Linked DNA regions of Homo sapiens: all the other regions are linked to region 4. The links are contacts of gene promoters, found by promoter capture Hi-C in blood cells and fetal thymus (Javierre and others, 2016). All regions are on one chromosome and are shown on one strand. Each heading gives the region's core, a stretch centred on a gene start or on the middle of the fragment in contact. The rest is flanking DNA. Distances are from core to core; before and after follow the strand shown. Region 1 overlaps LOC105379311 (a long non-coding RNA gene). Region 2 overlaps SLC18A1 (solute carrier family 18 member A1). Region 3 overlaps LOC105379312 (a long non-coding RNA gene). Region 4 holds the start of CSGALNACT1 (chondroitin sulfate N-acetylgalactosaminyltransferase 1). Region 5 overlaps CSGALNACT1 (chondroitin sulfate N-acetylgalactosaminyltransferase 1). Region 6 overlaps CSGALNACT1 (chondroitin sulfate N-acetylgalactosaminyltransferase 1).

Region 1 (2,872 bases), core at 267-2,766, 350 kb after region 4:
TTAGTGAATTCTGCATGTCATTTTCCAGAACTATCTTATCCACAGACGTGCACACAGAGACAAACACAGCCACACACACACACCCATTGCACCAACATGGTTTTACAACTTACTTTTTCTCTCCTAATACACCTAGGAACTCAATCCAATCCATTTCGACCCATACAAATCGGCAGCATCGCATTTCATGTCCAAAGAGTGTTCAATCAATTGCACAATCATTTACTTTACCATTTCTCATATTTATGGACATTTGAAGGCTTTCGGGTTTTTGCTATTAACTAATTACTAAACAATACTCCAGTGAATATCTTTGCACATCCCTCTTTGCACATTTCATGCGGGTGTACCTGTAGGATATATTCCTGGGCAAGGAATAACTGGATATGTGCATTTATAATTTTGAAAGTTATTGGCAAACTGTTCTGTCTTTAATTTGTAGCAATGTAAGGGTATACTACTTCTGTACATTTATAAAAGCTTTATTAATAACCTTTTGACCTTTGACATTTTGATAGATAAAAACAGAGACTTATTTTTATTTGTTTCTTATAACAAGGCTAACTTTGAAAACCTCAGATATTTACTTTCTTATTTTCTGGAGTTCTTGACTTTTTTTTCCCATTTAATTGGATCCTATTTGATTTTCTATTGCTTTTTTCTATTTGATTTGATTCTCATTCATAAACTCTTTATAAAAATTAACCCTTTGTTGGATCACATGTCTTATAATACCGTTGTTAATTATTTTTGTCTTTAGCTTTGTTATAGTGTTGATAGGGTTTGGCTGTGTCCCCACCCAAATCTCATCTTGAATTGCAGCTCCCATAATTCCCACGTGTTGTGGGAGGGACCCAGTGGGAGTTAATTGAATCATGGGGGCGGTTTCACCCATACTTTTCTTGTGGTAGTGAATAAGTCTCACGAGATCTGATGGTTTTATAAGGGGAAACCTCTTTCACTTGATTCTCATTTTCTCTCTTGCCCCTGCCATGTAAGAAGTGCCTTTCACCTTCCATCATGATTGTGAGGCCTTCCCAGCTACATGGAACTGTGAGTACATTAAACCTCTTTTCCTTCATAAATTACCCATTCTCGGGTATGTCTTTATCAGCAGCATGAAAATGGACTAATACAGGTGGTTTTTGTGAAGCACACATTTTTATTCAATAAAATTACTAATATTTTTCTCTCATGACTCTTGGGTTTTGCCTCTTATTTTAAAACTCCTAACAAAATGATACAATTTACTATTACATACCTGTTGGAGTTTTTATGTTAATACTTATGAACTACTTGGGAAATACTTTAATGTAAGAAGGTAGGGATTTATGTTTTCCAAAGGGCTACCTTGTTGTTCCCCAACCATTTACTGAATAATCCATCATTTATCCAGTGACTTGAAATGCCTTATTTATTATATATTATATATAAGACTCACACATGCATTAGGTCATATTTATAGAATATTTATTTTGTTTTGTTTATGCATCTGTAATTAAGCATCATACCATAATTTAAAAATAACTATATCTTTATAGTATATTTGAATAACTGGTAGGATTTGTACCTTAATACTCTTCAAAATATTTTCAGTTATTCTTACGTGTTTACTTTCTATAAAAAAAGTTTAGAAGAAACTAGTCTAGCTATTAAAAACCCTTCTTTTGACATTTTTACTGGGATGATACTAAATTATAGATTATTTTAAAGAGATCTGATCTTTTTACAATATCAAGTTTTTCTTTGCAAATTATATCTTTCAATTTATTCAAATCTTCCTTGGGTAGCTGGAGAGGAGAGAAAAGAATATGTAAAGAAAGTAGGATGAGAAGATGAAAGAGCTGTGAAAGAAATTCCCTGGGAACTCTGGACAGATCTATTTTTTGGAGTCAAAGAAAGAGTAGACAACAGCGGGGATGAGGCTTCTGGGAAGAGTCAGGTTATTGAAGACTTTTGAATGCCAGGCTAAAGAACATGGATCTCATTCAAGCAGGTGAAAGGCTTGCTTTAGGAAGTTTCTTAAGAGCTGCAGTTTGATTCTCAACTAGGAGCAATTTCGTCCCTGAAGGTATATCAACTTCTGGAGACATTTTGGTCAGCAGAGGGGGAGGTGTTCCTGGTATTTGGTGGACATTGGCCAGGGGTGCTGCTCAACACCCTACAAGGCACAGGGCAGCGCCCACAACAAAGAATTATCCAGTCCCAAATATCCATAGCATGGAGGTGCATAGTCCCTCTACTGGAGAGACTGAAGGGCAAAGAGACTACCATCAAGGAAACAATTTAAGCGGCCATGCAGGCCCTGTGGGCTCTGAACATGCCCCCACGTCGGTCATTCCAGTTAGCATCTCCCCTCCCAGCATCTGTGGTGCAAAAGCAGAAAAGAGCCAGTGAAGCCCGGGAGGTCCTGAGTTGGCTCCCAAACTCACTTCCTCCAGAGGAATTCTTCCTTAGCGGTTTATACACTTCCTGTTTATTCACATGCAAACAAACACATAGGAAAACCTCAGTCCCTCCATTCAGAACATGTTCTGAGGAATTCAGCCTGCAAAGCTTTCTTCAAAAATGAAAGCTTCTTTGTGTAAATGCTCAGAATTCATAAGCAACTAAATGAGGGACAGCGGGAACGAGGGAGGGTGGGAACAGGAGAGAAACCACATGGGGCTGACTTTAGAGTAGCCATAATTCAAGAGAACATGGGCGGCTTTTCTGCTCTTGAGAGAAATAAACAGCATTTCTTCCCAAGGAGTCACATCCCTGAAAGCATTCTATCTCCCCACTCCTCAAAGTGATCATGGCTCCTGGGCCTCTAACGCAACACTCGGCTTCATGTATGCAAATGGTAGGCACTCAATAAACAAAGTGAGTG
Region 2 (3,210 bases), core at 11-2,510, 390 kb after region 4:
ATTAGCCAGACATGGTGGTACATGCCTGTAATCCCAGCTACTTGGGATGCCAAGGCAGGAGAATCTCTTGAACCCGGGAGGCAGAGGTTGTGGTGAGCCGAGATCACACTATTACACTCCACCCTGGGCAACAAGAGTGAAACTCCATCAAAAAAAAAAAAAAAAAGTGACCTGGTAAGGATAATGTTGCACTAGAGTGAATGAGTGGATGAACGGATGTGCCAATGGAATTCTGCCCACTTATGAGGGAGTTAACTTGGTAACTCACATCTTGCTAGTAACTAGCAAGCTAAGAACAGTAACTACAGGATGTCTTTGATGGTCCTCTGCCCCCATTTCCCTTCTCTACTGAAGACCCTTCCTGATAGCCCCAGAAAGAGGGAAGTGGTTACTTAGAGAAGGGAAATTAAGGAAGTGCACAAAAGAAATATGAAGATGAAAGGGGATTGGGAAACATGGCAAAGCAGAGAGAGTATCAACAGAGCAATAGAGGGAGGAAATAACAGCCCAGGATGAAAGGGAATGAGAGAGATGATGGAAAGAAACAGAAGTGAATTTCTCTTTTAACAGTCGGTGCTCCTTACAAGCTTCTCTTCCTTTGCCGGGGGGCTCCGCAGGTAGTAGCAGAGTGGAGCATAGACGATGTTGATGACCCCAGTGATGACCATGAGCCAGGGAAAACCGATGGCCTTTACAATGGCACCACCGGTGGATGGACCTGGGAGGGATACATCAAAGTCATAAGTGTCTATGGAGCCTCCATATGGAGCATCCTCCACGTAGGACACTATGCTAGGGGCAGTGGGTGACCCAGAGGATGTCTCAGCGTCAAAGATCTCCAGAACCCTAGGAGGATAGCTTCCTGGCTGCACTTCCAGCTGGTAAAGAGTAGACAGGGGAAAGTGGGGCACCAGGTCCTGCCAACATACCTATAGCAAAGCCCATGCAAAAAGCCACATCAGCGATGGCGTAGACACTCCCATACACCGAGGTGTGGCGTAGATCCACCAGGTGCCCCATGATGGGCATCATAGAAGAATCCACCATGCCTGTGGCCAGAGCAAACAGGACACAGTCAGCCCCACCCACAGTTAGTACCACCCCGCCTCTCCTCCTCCATTTAGTCCATTTGCTTTGTCTGCTGTCTTCTGCCTCGGACTAACACCTGTTCCAGGTGGGAATTACGAGCTCATCTCTCCACAACCCTGCCAGCTGCCCTCCTGATCCTTCTGCCTCTGCACCTACCTCCTCTGATGAGAAAAGGGGGAGGAAAGGCATCAGACCCAAAGCCAACATGCAGGGGCTTATTGTTTTCTTTGAGGGCACTTCTTACCTATGGCAAGGCCAAGCCCTGCATTGGGGCCAATGAGACCAAAAATATTGTGAGCCAGAGGAACCTGCATGGGGAAGGAGGAAGAGTCATCAGGACTCCAGATGGGTCAGGTGGGAGCAAGGTTCAAAGAGTTTTCACATGAAATGCATTTATTCAGAGTGCACTATTGGCCACATACATCATCCTCCTGCACTCTCAGACTTTCTCATGGAAAAGAATCTATACCTCCATTTTAAGGATATGAAAACTTGACCAGCGCTGTTGTGTTTATTTATTGCTCTATCCAGAGTTACAGATCTAATGAGTGGCAAGATCAAGTTTGGACCTCAGACTTGGCTCCATTATGCTCTAACGAGGGTCTTCCTCTGTTCCATGGATACTTTCTCCCCTTCCTCTACCCCTCTTCACCTAAACATACACTCCTGGTCTCATTCTTCATGGAATAAAGTTGCCTCTGTTTTCCATTATGGACATCACTGAAAGGTTTCATTTAGACTTCTAACTTGGTAGCTGTTGGAAAAAGAAGATAGAGAAGAGGCCCCAACAACCAGTTAGCTGTAAGCTAGAGGGGGCAGGTGGTGTGGCTTGGGTCCCCTGTCAGGAAGCTTGTGAGACTCATTCCCATTGCCCTCCCAATCCCCCAACAAAAACCCCTTCTTCCCTCTTTTTCAGGTTCCTTACCTCCCTCTCTGGGTACCTGCCATTCAAACCTGCTACCCCAGGACACTCACCCCTTAAGGGTTTAGCATACCGTTTAGATGCTGCTGGCTGATAACAATTTTTAGGGTTCATGCCTCAAGAAATGTTTATAAATTATCAATAGTATTGGCTGAGATTCACTATGGGCTCACCATGTGCCAGACACTGTGGTTTATTTGGATTACCTTGACAACCCTGTGGACACCATCAGAACCCTCTCTACATAGATGAGGATGCTGAGCACACGGAGATGAAGTAACCTGCTCAAAGTCACATGCATAGAAAGTGGCAAAACCTGCCATGGAACCCGGATCCCATGCTCCTGCTCAGGACCTCCAGCTGGTCTTGAGCACAGTTTACAGTGCCTTGTAGCCCTGTTCTTCTCTCCCTCAGGCCTAGGAGGTTTGTGTGTTTCTCATCCCCACTGGGGAGAGGAGGAAATGAAGGCTTTGAGAACTTGAGGGGGATTCTTGGAAATGGAAAAGTCCTTCTTTCTTTCTTCTTCTATCAAGCCTCTGGTGCCAGAGACTGGGACATAGATGATGGTTCCCTGGGGATTTATGAGGCTCTGTCAGGGTGGGATGAGTAAATGAAGTCATAAAACGCACCATTTTGCCATCCCCAGAAATGGATACCAACATGTATCACTTCATATGCCCACATGTACAGCCTCAGACCTCCGGCTCCAGCTGCCCTACAGCCCTCTTCCTCTCCTTTCCCACTTCCCCTCAAAGGAAAGCCACTGCAGCTGGTGGCCTCTTCCCCCGTGCTAAATTCCTGCCTATTCAGAAACAGTCTTTCTGACAGTCCTTGCCAAGCCATCTCTGCTCATCTTAAAGGAAATTAGTCTTTAAATGTCTGTGTCTTTCTCTCTCTCTCTCTCCCTCTCTCTCTCTCTCTCTCTCTCTCTCTGTCTGTCTGTCTCTCGCTCTCTCTCTCCTTCCCCTCCCCCAGGTCTTCTTATACTTACACAGAGCAAGCTGGTACCTACTACCAGCATCCCGATTAGGGAACACAGCCACCTGGAAGAAAAAAGCCATCATCAAACACCACTAGGGGAGAGCTCCCCTCCACCTGTACCCCATCACCGCCATGCTGACCTGTCCCACCAGCCCTAATCCCAGCAACCCCTTAGGACCTGAGGACAGCATCCCTACATGACCAGTTTGTACCCAAAT
Region 3 (2,876 bases), core at 332-2,831, 370 kb after region 4:
AAGTCCTGCAGATGCTAGAAATCAATAGGGTTTTTATTTATTTTTAAATTTAAATTTTTTTGAGGTGGATTTTTGCTCTTGTCGCCCAGGCTGGAGTGCAACGGTACGATCTCGGCTCAATGCAACCTCTGCCTCCCAGGTTCAAGCGATTCTCCTGCCTCAGCCCCCCAAGTAGCTGGGAGTACCGGTGCCTGCCACCATGCCTGGCTAATTTTTGAGTATTTTTAGTAGAGACGGAGTTTCACCATGTCGGTCAGGCTGGTCTTGAACTTCTGACCTCGGGTGATCCACCTGCCTCAGCCTCCCAAAGTGTTGGGATTTCAGGTGTGAGCTACCGCACCCGGCCAAAAGAGTTTATTGACTGGGGCAGGACGATGGAAGTAAGAATGCAGGTCAGAGTCAAATAACAGCCTTACCTCTTTTACTTAGATATCCAGATGTTCTTTTTAGCAAATTAAATTTTCTAATTTGCTTTTACTCAGTACATTGATATGCTTAGTATAAATGCACTAACTGTGCTACTTTTAAACGCATCCAACACACATCATTTTAAAGTGTTTTATGAGAAATTCTGAACCTCCAGTAGACAACGACCCTTCTCCTACAAACTACAGTTATTCCAAGGGCATTTCACTCTGTCTTCCACATGCAAGAGCTTGTAGCAGGAAAAAAATAAAATGAGAAAGAGAGAGAAAGAAAAGAGAAAAGAGAGAGAAGGAAGGGAGGGAGGGAGGAAGGGAGAGGAGGGGAGGGGAGGAGAGGGGAGGGAGGAAGGGAGGGAAAAGAGGGATGGAGGGAGGGAGAGAGGGAGGGAGGGAAGGAAGGGAGGAAGTAAAATATGTATGTATATACTTTTATTTATGTCTATGTCTAGATGGGTCAGCACAAATATTGAATTCACACTATATGCTGTGGCCTGCAACAGATACTGAGGATGCCAGCATGGATATGAGACCCAGTAATTAGCCTGGAAGAGCAGAGAATGTACTGAGGGATGATTTGTAACAATACAACTGCTATGTTATGTTCTCCTGCTATAACAGAGGCAAGAGCTCAGTGTTCTGGGGATGCAGGCGAGGAATTGTGTGGCCTGGATAAATCTAGGAAGACTTCATGGAAGATGACGCATTTAAGCTAGATCTTGAAGAAAGATAGCAAGCTTTCTGTCTAGTGTAAGGGAAACTCATTTCAGTCTGCAGAAACAGTGTAAGCTGGGGTGTGGAGGATGAGAGATGAGGGCAGCTGGTCCAGGCAGACAACAGAACCAGTGAGAGCAGCGGTTGCTGCTACTGTATCACCCCCCTTGGCAGTAGTATGGCCCTGACTGCTGAGAGGCAGGCCAGCTCAGGGGCGTCTCGACTCCCCAAACCAGTGCTGAACATTCCCTGATCAACCTGGCTACCAAACCTTCTTCTGAAAATGAGAAGTAGCTTGTTAACTATCAGAGCTTTCTCACATAAGAATGGGCTTCAGGAGAGGTAGTGAGGTCCCTGTGGGAGGAGGTATGTAAGTAAAAGTGATAGGATAGGCCCTTTTTTCCAGGCTGTGGTAGAAGGGAGGTTTGGGACCAAAGAAGGTTGGCCTAACATACCCCGCTCAGTTTTCTTCCAGAGCTAAGAGGCCATGATTCCCTTTGAAAGTAGAATTTCCTGTTCTTCTATGAGGAATGGAAAAACATGTCTAGAGAGGTTAAGTGACTTGCCCCAGGCTACAAAGAAAGCTATCCGAATCATTGTCCAAACATTTCACTTGCTACAATCTGATCTCAAGTGGACTTTTAGACAGGTGAGAACAGATGCTGGCTCTTCTATCTCGGCAACCTCTTTACCAATTCTGCAAGCATCAGACAGCAGCTGGATCATACATACATATGCCTCACGTACGCAGCTTCAGCTCTGCCAAGCAGGGCCATGCCCAAATGTGAGCATAATATGTTTATGTGGACCTTGAGCAAGACACTGTGAGTTGAGTCCTGACTTCACAACTGCAAGCAGGAGGTCACAGAAGCTTTGCAGATAAAATGTTAATCTCATACCTTGGCCCATATCAACACATGCTAATCAGATGGGTCAGGCTGTGCCGTTTCCCTCTGCAAGCGGGACTTGTTGTGACTAATTGAGGGGTTTGTAGTGAACATGTCCCTTTACCTCCTGCAGTCCTGGCATCCTAAAGCAAACCTTGGATCTATCAACACCAGTGATACCGAGAAGCCGATATTCTCTTCACTCTGTTCTCCTTCCCAGCAGCCATCACGCCTCTGGGCTACAATCCTGCCTCCAGAAGTCCCAGCTCAATTCACAAAGATGTTCTGGGAAGGAAGTCAATCTTCCCAAAGTTCTTGAGAGCCTGGGACATGCCATTTGCGCAGAACTCTAGAGTATGCAACGTGGCTTCACACACATCACTCCATTCGGACCCAGGGCTCTGGTACAGGTGTCATCCAAACCTTCTACTGCACACACGTAGCAAAGCGAGGCCCAGGGGTGATGCCCTCTTGAAGTCACAGAGAGAATAAGTGGAGCAGCAAGAAATCGCAGCTCAGTTTTCTGACCCTGAAGCCTGGGTTCTCTTCTGCATATACCAGATGGCCTGGTGAGCAAGGGTTGGGTATTCCTTGGCAAGGGGTGAGCAGGGCTGGGATCCAGGGTGAGTTGAAGTGGGCTGAGGACTTTCCAGGACTCATAGCTCCAGCCGGAATGTGAACAGGCCACACGCACCGAAATCAGTCTTTAGAGCTCGCTGTGGCCACAAGTGGGTGCTGGGCTGAGGTGGTGGCTTGTGGTTGTGAGTGTTGAAGATCATAGTTCAACGCAGGCCGGGTCCCATACAGGCAGGAGGACCAGGCACTAACTGGCCTGCTCTGCCGTCGATCTGGT
Region 4 (2,700 bases), core at 201-2,700:
TATTTTGATATTGTATTATGTGGAGTACATATGGTGTGGCAGCTCAAGGCAGACGAATTATTAAATATGTACGGTGATCTTACAATGGGTATGGCCCGTCTCTTGCTTTCTAGGAATTGACCATCTTCCGGCAGCCCAACACCTAGTCCCCTGTGTATTATGCACTATTACAAAACGTGTTCAAGTCGCCTTTTATGCCTAAGGCTTACATAAAAATTCATCTTGCCTTTCTGCGTCTATTTCCAAGTTTGAAGGACCTTTCTCCCTCCAATTAGCAACATTTCAGCACTGCACAGGGCTTATTAATGCTCACTGTTGCAAGTAACACCAAGGTAATTTGACTTTCTTGTAGGAACAATGTCGACGAAATCCTACAGAATTAAATTTAAATTTCCAGTTTAAAAAAAAAAACCGTGAAAGAACACTTCATTACCTTTATTATCTAGACGTATCTAATGACGTTAAGTAAAAACTGCACCAAGGCTTTGAAACCAGAAGAAAAGTGGAGTTTGTGAAATTTAACCACTCCATGCTTTTTATTAGTATTTCACTTATGAGTATTTCCCGAGGCTCACTGTTTTGGCAGGCACAGTGCTGTTAACATCTCTTCCTTTCTCACCATTCTTTGCTCATCGATGAAAAGATAACTTCAAAATCTCTGACAGGAATGCAGGTGCAGGAAGTGCGACGGAAACAAACAACTTTGCCTCCGCTTCCTACAGCTTTCCTCTCCTCCCCGCCCTTCTAGCCCCCATCCCACCCCAAGATCATGCCCTCGAACAGCTTCTGCCCACCGATCGCACGTCCCCTGGGCATGTTCGGGCAGCGGTGACCCTCAGCCACATCCCCCACTAGCCCGGTCCCGGGCAGGCGAGCGCGCTGCCCACCGGCCACCCTCGTCACGCCCCCTCCACCCTCTCCATCCCAGCCACAATAATACAATAACCGCAGTCATCGCGCGGCACGTGGAAAGGCTACTTTTCAGTGGGTTTTGCAGAAAGCAATCAGACAGCGGAAGGCCACGAGAAACGCTGGTGAAGCCAAACCGACCCCGGGAGCGCAGCGGCCCCGGACCCTCCCTGGAAGCTCCCTCCGCGTCCCCGCGCGCCCACCTGGAGGCGCCGCGCCCTCCGCCTGCCAAGCCGGTCCCCGGCCCCTGCCCGTGCCCTGGGCCCCCGGCGGGCAGCGGCGGAGGGAGGCCAGGCGCGGCACCGTCCTCCGCAGCTGCACGAGCCACCCCGAGGTCGCGGGGTGGGCGGGCGCGAGCTAGGCGCGCGGGGCTGTGGGGATCTGCCGGCGCCACTGACGCCCCCGCGCGGCACACCGCGCCCGGCTGGCCCGGGAGGGGACCCGACTCACCCGAAGCGCCCTGCTAGCTGCCCGGCCCGGCTCCGGCCGCTGCCGCCGTCGCTGAACTTTCCCTCCTGCGCGGCCGCCGCGGACTCGGCTCCACCTCCCGCTCCGGCAGCCGCGGAGCCTCCAGGGACCCCGGGGGCGGGGAGCAGCGGCGGCGGCGGCGGCTCGGGCGGGCGGGCGCAACAGCGGCCAAGCCTGGCGCCCCGCCGCAGGGTAGGTCCGGCGGGGGCGGCCAAGGCCGGGCTGGGGTCGCGGTTGGCCGCGTACCTCCGCGTCACCCACGGCCTCTCTGCAGTGCGTCCCTGCGCCCGTCGGAGCGGCGCCCTGGCCGAAGCCTGTCACTCTCGGAAGGGGCCGCGCTCGGACACCAGGGGCGGTTTACGCGTGACTGGACACCAAGAGCCGGAGAAGTTTAGAGACTAGGACACTGTGGCGTGGCCCGAGTTGCAGGAGAGAGGTGTCCAATCTCCATGGGGTCCTTACTCTTGCAGGACAGAGTTCCCCATCCCCCTGCTCCACCCGCTCTGTTCCCTTGGCTGCCCTCCCCGCCGAGCGCCGACTTCCATGCAAAAACTTTGTAAATCGCACTTCGGGGAATTCACGCTTTAGTCGCGGTCTCTGCTGCCCTGGTCAGCTATAACGCCTCCCCTAGAGAGCTTTTACTTACAGCGAAGGTCAGGAACCCCTGTAACTCTCACACCGCACCACTGTGGGTAAGCGATGTCTGCAGGGACCCCTGACGGCCACTGGGAGGCCAGGAGAGAAGAGGGAGAGGAAAGGCTAAAAAGGCAAGTGGAGTGTTGGGTAATAAAAGATCCACCGCCACCTCCAGCACACACAGGCAGGCACCCTCCAGGGCCACAGGTCGCCTTTTATCTGTAAGTGCTCCAGCGCATCTCTGTGGGAGAGGGAGTTGGGAAATAGGATCGCCAATTTTCAGTGTAATTGAGGGGGACTCAGGAGGAGTCAGTTAGACTGGAAGAGGTCATCACCTGCAGATGCGGTTAAGCAACTTGCAGAGGCCCCAGGGCTGAGCCACCGCAGAACCGGAGCTGGAAACCAGTCCTATGACTCCTGAGGCAGTGCTCTTTCTACTACCTGGCCATGGCTCCTTCTACTGCCTGGCTCAGAGTCTCCATCTGGGAGATTCCGGCGCACCAGACTTTATTGTGGGCACAGGGTAGGCAGTCCTGAGGCTATAGGCACAGTCTTGAAGCAGCTCGGTTTCCATTAAGCTCCTGCTTACCTGCAGGAAGCATCCCTGAAGCAAGTTTTGCTTCCCACCTGGACTCCCCAGGTGGACCTATCCCCACCCCACACCCTGAGTGAACTCTTCACCCTCGT
Region 5 (3,190 bases), core at 85-2,584, 290 kb before region 4:
GGCACGGCTACATCCTTCCTACCATGTAGGTCTCCGCCCTGAAGCCACCTCCTCAATGAGGCTTTACCTACTCTCAGTCTCTGAAGCCCCCCACCATCCCACAGACACTCTCTGTTACCTTTTCACACGACCCCATTCTGGGTTTTTCATCGCACATTATCTGAATGTGTTTACTGCTTATCTATGCGTTACTCTTCCTGCCATGGGAAGGTACACTCTGTGAAACCAGAACTTGGTGTCTGCAACCCTAATGAATATTTGCTTCACAGAAGGAGAAAGGGAGGGAGGGAAGAAGAAAGGGAAGGTGCTTGGCTAAAAAGGGAATAAATGCAATAGGGTAGAAATCAGAGGAATTACCGAGTTGACAGAATGTTTTTTAAAAATATTGGAAAAAGCAACATACTTCCTTCATATGCTGATAAAAAGGAACAAATAGAAATGGATAATACAGATGCAGGGACGGAGTGAGAAGGTGAGAGGTGGATGGGACCTACAACCCCGCAAAGTACTTGGTATCAGACAAAGAAGGGTTACCTAGTTCCCACAATGGGGATGGAGCAGAAGGCTAGGGATACAAATAGAGAAAGCTTGGGGCAAGGAACCACAGGAGCTCATGGCGCTAAGTCGTTAATTTCTTGGTGAAACAGAATGAGGGAATTAAAAGTAGAATAATGGGTTTATGAGGAGTGCTGGAGGCTGGGATGGGACAGTGAGCACGGAGATGAGTAAGGATGTGGGAAACAACGCAGAGGTGCAGGCAGCGAGGCCAGAGAGCATGAATTTGCACTGACATCAGCACGCGCATTCAGTGACTTCTCTCCAGCAGCGTGAGGAACACAGGCAACAGAGGAAACAAGACGGTGACTCACTGAGCTTGGACTGGACTCTGCAGACAGGTGTGAGGGCAAGGAAGGCAGGCACTGGGAAGCGAGTGGCGGAAGTGTTAACAGGTAGCTGGGCATGAGCGGGGCAGGAGAGGGCTCTACCCTAGAAATGTAAGGGGATGATTCGGCAATCATCTCATTGCCTCTCTAAAAATGAAAATTTGGCAGTGCCACAGAGAGGCCACTTCCTGATGATCCACACCCGTTAACATCAAAATGCTAACTGAACGCAGGCCCTAAGGAGAAGCAATGTCCTGGGAACATGTGTTAAGAGACAAAAATGCGCTGGACGTGGTGGTTCACGCCTATAATCCCAACACTTTCGGAGGCTGAGGTGGGCGGATCACCTGAGGTCAGGAGTTCCAGACTAGCCTGGCCAATGTGGTGAAACCCCGTTTCTACTAAAAATACAAAAATTAGCTGGGCGTGGTGGTGGGTACCCATCATCCCAGCTACTTGGGAGGCTGAGGCACGAGAGTCGCTTGAACCTGGGAGGTGGAGGTTTCAGTGAGCCAAGATCACACCACTGCACTCCAGCCTGAGCAACAGAGCAAGACTCTGTCTCAAAACAAAACAACAAAACAAAAGGAGAGAGAGGGGAGAGAGAGAGAAAAAAAAAGGTGAAGTATGATCTTGGGGCACACTCCACCGGAAAAGGGAAGAAAGCCTCCAATGGGCATGCGTATCACTCACTAAACGCACTGCGCTTGCTCAATGCCAAAGGGTAAGGAGAACACTGCGCATGCGGAAAGCCTACCCTAAGGGGTGAATCATGGGGAAGAGGCGAGCCTATAAAATCCCAGGATCAAGTTTAAAGGTCTCCCTCCCTCCTTTTCTTTTTTTTCATTCCTGTCTTCTTTTGCTCTCTTTTCTCTCTTGGACCCTCAGGTACCCACTTGGGTCTCTTTCAAGTGAATGTTCCTTTCGTTCCTGTTCTAAAGCCTTTTAAAATGAACTTCCATTCCTGTTCTGAAACTTGCCTTAGTCTGTTTTTCTGCTTCATGCCCCTCAGTCGAATTCTTTCTTCTGAGGCGGCAAGGACTGAAGTTGCTGTGGACCTGTAGGGGTTCGACGCCGGTAACTCAGGGTAACTCCTATCTCTTCCACCGGTAACAGAGGGGTTACATTATGGGGTCCAGGTTGAGAGAGGAGCAGAGGAGCCTAAGGAAAGGTAGAGTACAAGGACAGGAAAGGGTGAAAGCTTAGATGCAGTGAGAGTAAACAACAAGGCTGAAGTGAGAAAACTCAACGGAAGAGATGGGGAAGAAACAGATTCTGAGGATGTTTAAGTCTAACTTGCTCCAGGTGATCAACAGCCCCAGAATGAAGCTGTCCTGGAAACTGGGCCTCTGCACTTTTCTCCCTCAATGCTGTCTCTAGAGCTGGCTGGACCCAGATATCAGGCTGCTCAAAACAACTCCACAGATCTCTTTTTCACCTTCACTTCCTATTGTTGAAGAACTGTGGGTTTCTAATGAAGAAATGGCAGATCCATCTATTCCCATCATCTTACCTTAAGACACCAAGGGTTAGAAATTACACTTGCAGGATGCCTACTTGGACTCAATGGAGTTTAAGAGGCCAGTCAGCAAGGGTAGAGGCAAAGATATTAGGGAGTTCTACAAAGATTCCAGAACAAACAACATGCAAGGAGGGGAAGTCACAGCTGCCATTATTAGGGCCAGTTTCCAAACAGCTGTAGGACTTCCTCTGCAAACACATTCGAATGTATATCCAGGATGTCGTGGGAAAGCACAAAACTTAAGATACAGGCAGAAGCAATAAGCAGGAACCAAAAGGTCAAAGACCAAGGAATGTGTGACCAAGCTATTGTCTTTGGCCAACCATTGACCTCGTCCATATGCAACTTACCACCAAAGTAGAGGATGTGCAGTCTAACTGAAATTTCCATCACTCTGACTCACGTCCATTTTTCAAACCCTGTTCACAAATATTATCTTGATTTTGAAGTATCTTTCAAAGAGGTAAGCCATTTACTCATTTTGAAAAAGTTAAAGTAACCAATTCAAGGTTGCAAATGCTATGCTCCCAGACCAAAGGGCACACGAGTAAGAATCTGAGACCAATGTCAAAGTACAGCTCTTTCAAGGTGAATCAACTCGGCAATCAAAAGGATGTTTTAACTCTTCTTTCTTTTCTGTTCTTCCTTTCTTTTTGAGACTGACTTGAGAATAGAAAAACATAAAGATGCTTCAAAAAGCTTATCAACTTTCCAAAGCATATCAGAAAAGTCTTAAAACTCATCTTTGAAGAGTAAGATAATATAATACTCATTCATTGATATC
Region 6 (3,140 bases), core at 408-2,907, 270 kb before region 4:
AACGTTTATGTACCAGGCAACGTGCTTAATATTAGGGCTACAAAGTGGTATGAGAAAGGGTCCCTCATTTAAGTCTAGGGGGAGACCCTGATGAATTAATCGACAATCACAGGACACAAATGGTATGAAAATGGAGCATAAGGAATCTTTGCACCATCGAGGGTCCCATATTGTCTTTTCACTGGCTGTCTTCACGATGACATCTTTCCTTAGCCCTGTTAAACATAGCTGTGTGTCTCCAATTTTAAATTAAAACCAAAAATCTCTCCTTCAACTTTCTTGTTAGGAACCTTTTGTTAGGAAGCCAAGCTGAGCTGACATCTATCAGCTGGAATGGTATGTTTACACACATTTTCTAGCCCTGTGTGTTCTAACCAAAGTCTCCTTCTACACCTTGAATGGTACCAAGAAAAGCAAAATTCTGCTCCAAGCTCAGAAAATGACCAATTGCCTTCATAGACTAATTACCACATGGGCCAGCTGCCTTCCTGGACCATCTGTTCTTTTGATGGCCCCCAAATATTTCTAACTCTGGGATTCGAGTATAACAGCCAGCAACATTCAGAAGCCAATCCTGATCAATAGCCCTGCTCTTCCCCCGACTTCCCAGCTCCTCTTTAAATAGCGCATGGAACATCACTAATTTAGGCATTCTAAAAATACAGCACATAATACAGACCAAGCTACAGATGGAAGGCTGCACACGAGAAGCTGCTTCTGCGACTCACACTGGTTTTCACAGACTGACTGCAAAACAGTATTTTGGGAAAGAGAGGAAAAGAGAGAGACAGGTTTAAAAAAACAAAAGGCACTTTTGACAGTAGGGTCTTTCATCAAGGGAAGGAAGAAGAGGTGTTTTGTTCTTTTTCCTCTTGTCCTTGAAAACTCCTATTCATCTCCTGGGAGTACTGGGAAGGGGAAAAAAGAAAGCATCATAAGATGCCACCAGGAAAGGGACTCTGACGGAGAACACCAGAACCTCTGGTTCCACCAAACTCTTGCTTAGAGGCCAGGAGCATGCGAAACCACCTTTTCTGCAGAGCCAACTGATAAATCCACACCAGCTTAGTGCTATATGCTGATTGGTTCTCTCCAGCTTGGACACCTGTAGTCTCCATCACAATGCAGGAGAAGTGGAGCCCAGGACACAATGAGGCTTTGCTGTAACTTCTTCCACAGGGCCCATCATCTCCTTCCCCAAAAAACCCTCACCTTTACAGGCTGCCTGCTCCAGCCTTGGTATTTAGGGTAAAGACTGATTGAGACCTAGAAGTTACCTGTAATTTTATTTTTCTCTTTCTGGATTCTCCAGGTGATTCCCAGGCAGCAGGAAGGAAGTCCCCTGAAACTACCACCTCGAAACCTGGGACTGTTTCAATTACCCTATTCTGTCACGTTTAGAATCAAATGCTAATTTATTTTCTAGTCATGTCAACATGATTCAAGCACTGCCATATCTTATTGCAAAGTATAACAGCAACAGAATTTCCAAAGAAAGTATCTGGAAAACACAGCATCACTCATAATTCTACCACTCAGGAAAAAAAAAAAAACCAATGCTTTGCTACAGTGTTTTCATCCCCTCGATCTTTTTTCTTTACATAGCTAGATAAAAACTTTATAATTATTTTCACAATTAAAATGATAGCCTTTGTCCTATGTTAATATTTACTGAATAAATGATTTTTGTTTACCGTACAATATTCTACTATAACGATACCGCAAAATTTTACCAGTCTCCTATTGTTAGACAACTAATTGCTTCTCATTTTTCATTATTATAAATACTTCTATGATATAAATATTCATGGACATTTCTGAGAATCAGCTTTCAGAAAGGAAAATACTGGAAAAAGCTATGAATATTTTGAACGTTCTTGATACAAATTACTTTACAGAATGATAGAAACAGTTTATGCTCTTAATACTAAATATAAATTTTCATTTCACCTGCTCCTAACAATATGTGTCATCATTTATAAAATTGTGAAAATTCGTATTTTACATTTGTTTTAAACTTTATTAGGTAAGAAAAAGTAAACAGTTTTTTATTTGTATATCAGATATCTGTATCTCTTTTGTGATCCGTTCATCTTTTGCTCATGTATCTTTCATGATGTTTGCTTGGGTTTAAGTTTCAGCAAGAATTTATGTCATGCTCATATGCATCTTGAACCAAACAAAGCAAGGTCTTTTCACATTTCACTCTTAGCATTTCATGTGTGTTTCGATGTTGTGCAGTAATTTGCAAACGACACAACTGATTTCTAATAAATTCGGTACATAATTCAAGGGTACTAAGACATACATTTACATTCCACACACTTTACATGAGTCCACAGAATTAGCAATTTTTCAAGCATTGCAGTGCAAATTAGTATGTGGGTAGAGGTTACAGAGATTAATGATTTCTTTAGACATGGATGGAAGGCCAAAGTACACTCTGTGCTATTAATAAGCTCTATTTATTGACCATAAACATATTCATAACTTAAGTAGGTTCAGCCATGAACTTGAAAATGAAAAATGTGTTTACAATGCCACTCATGGGAACATTGGTAACTAGTGAGAATCCTTTGGAAAATGTCTATAAATTTACAGGATTTAAGTAACAAAATGCTAACTATATGCGAGAAGGCTCTTCTTTTCAGAGAAGCACGTATCTAAGGTCAACAGCACACAGCCCTCACAATGAGATCAACCAGCATACTGCTAGGCTATGCCTGGGACATAGTAGACATTTGGTTGAAGCCCTCACGATGAAATCAACCAGCATACTGCTGGGCTATGCCTGGGATGTAGTAGACATTTGGTGAATGTTTGTTGAGTAATTATCCCAGGATGGTAAATTTCATCTACCTCTTCAGTTTCCTGCACGCTACTCCTGATCTCCTGATTCAGAAGGCATTTTTCTGCATTTTTACTAATGTCTAGTATGAACTTCAAACATCAATTCACGTCCTCTTAAACTCTGTGCCATCTACCCTGCTGGAGCTAGCCTGCCAACCTGGGCCAAGCCTCACCTGTGTCATGTCCGATGCCCCAGTCTGACTTAGATTTTGCCCTAAAGGCTTTCAGGATAAGGGCATGTTCCATTCAACACCAGCTGGAAGCCCAGCCATGCTCTGGTCTTGCTGGTC

Evidence for each region. Contacts are between HindIII fragments. The CHiCAGO score rates a contact against its expected background, and 5 or more counts as called.
Region 1: a contact is called between a fragment that was not itself captured here and the fragment with the promoter of CSGALNACT1 in region 4, in 1 of 17 cell types (neutrophils). The highest score is 5.5, in neutrophils.
Region 2: a fragment that was not itself captured here is called in contact with the fragment with the promoter of CSGALNACT1 in region 4 in 1 of 17 cell types (neutrophils); the score reaches 6.8 in neutrophils.
Region 3: a fragment that was not itself captured here is called in contact with the fragment with the promoter of CSGALNACT1 in region 4 in 9 of 17 cell types (naive B cells, naive CD8 T cells, erythroblasts and 6 more); the score reaches 8.8 in naive B cells.
Region 5: a contact is called between a fragment that was not itself captured here and the fragment with the promoter of CSGALNACT1 in region 4, in 11 of 17 cell types (total CD4 T cells, naive CD4 T cells, non-activated CD4 T cells and 8 more). The highest score is 13.2, in total CD4 T cells.
Region 6: a fragment that was not itself captured here is called in contact with the fragment with the promoter of CSGALNACT1 in region 4 in 10 of 17 cell types (neutrophils, naive CD8 T cells, non-activated CD4 T cells and 7 more); the score reaches 15.4 in neutrophils.

Annotation. Positions count from the first base shown.
Region 1 is chr8:20,101,059-20,103,930 of GRCh38, forward strand. The region is part of intron 1 of LOC105379311 (a long non-coding RNA gene); the gene reads left to right. Among named protein-coding and RNA genes, the nearest start is that of SLC18A1, 81 kb to the right of the region's middle. The HindIII fragment of the contact is 2,076 bases long and covers 479-2,554 here.
Region 2 is chr8:20,146,674-20,149,883 of GRCh38, forward strand. SLC18A1 (solute carrier family 18 member A1) reads right to left here. Exons shown (of 16, transcript NM_003053.4): 12 at 3,003-3,054; 13 at 1,334-1,397; 14 at 930-1,049; 15 at 585-718. Among named protein-coding and RNA genes, the nearest start is that of SLC18A1, 35 kb to the right of the region's middle. The HindIII fragment of the contact is 1,351 bases long and covers 586-1,936 here.
Region 3 is chr8:20,127,328-20,130,203 of GRCh38, forward strand. It overlaps LOC105379312 (a long non-coding RNA gene), which reads left to right. Exons shown (of 3, transcript XR_949563.2): 2 at 875-2,592. Among named protein-coding and RNA genes, the nearest start is that of SLC18A1, 54 kb to the right of the region's middle. The HindIII fragment of the contact is 848 bases long and covers 1,158-2,005 here.
Region 4 is chr8:19,755,827-19,758,526 of GRCh38, forward strand. CSGALNACT1 (chondroitin sulfate N-acetylgalactosaminyltransferase 1) reads right to left here and starts at 1,451. Exons shown (of 9, transcript NM_001354483.2): 1 at 1,360-1,451. The HindIII fragment of the contact is 8,664 bases long and covers 1-2,700 here.
Region 5 is chr8:19,469,647-19,472,836 of GRCh38, forward strand. All of the region lies in intron 3 of CSGALNACT1 (chondroitin sulfate N-acetylgalactosaminyltransferase 1), which reads right to left. Among named protein-coding and RNA genes, the nearest start is that of SH2D4A, 160 kb to the left of the region's middle. The HindIII fragment of the contact is 1,498 bases long and covers 586-2,083 here.
Region 6 is chr8:19,489,546-19,492,685 of GRCh38, forward strand. All of the region lies in intron 3 of CSGALNACT1 (chondroitin sulfate N-acetylgalactosaminyltransferase 1), which reads right to left. Among named protein-coding and RNA genes, the nearest start is that of SH2D4A, 180 kb to the left of the region's middle. The HindIII fragment of the contact is 8,083 bases long and covers 1-3,140 here.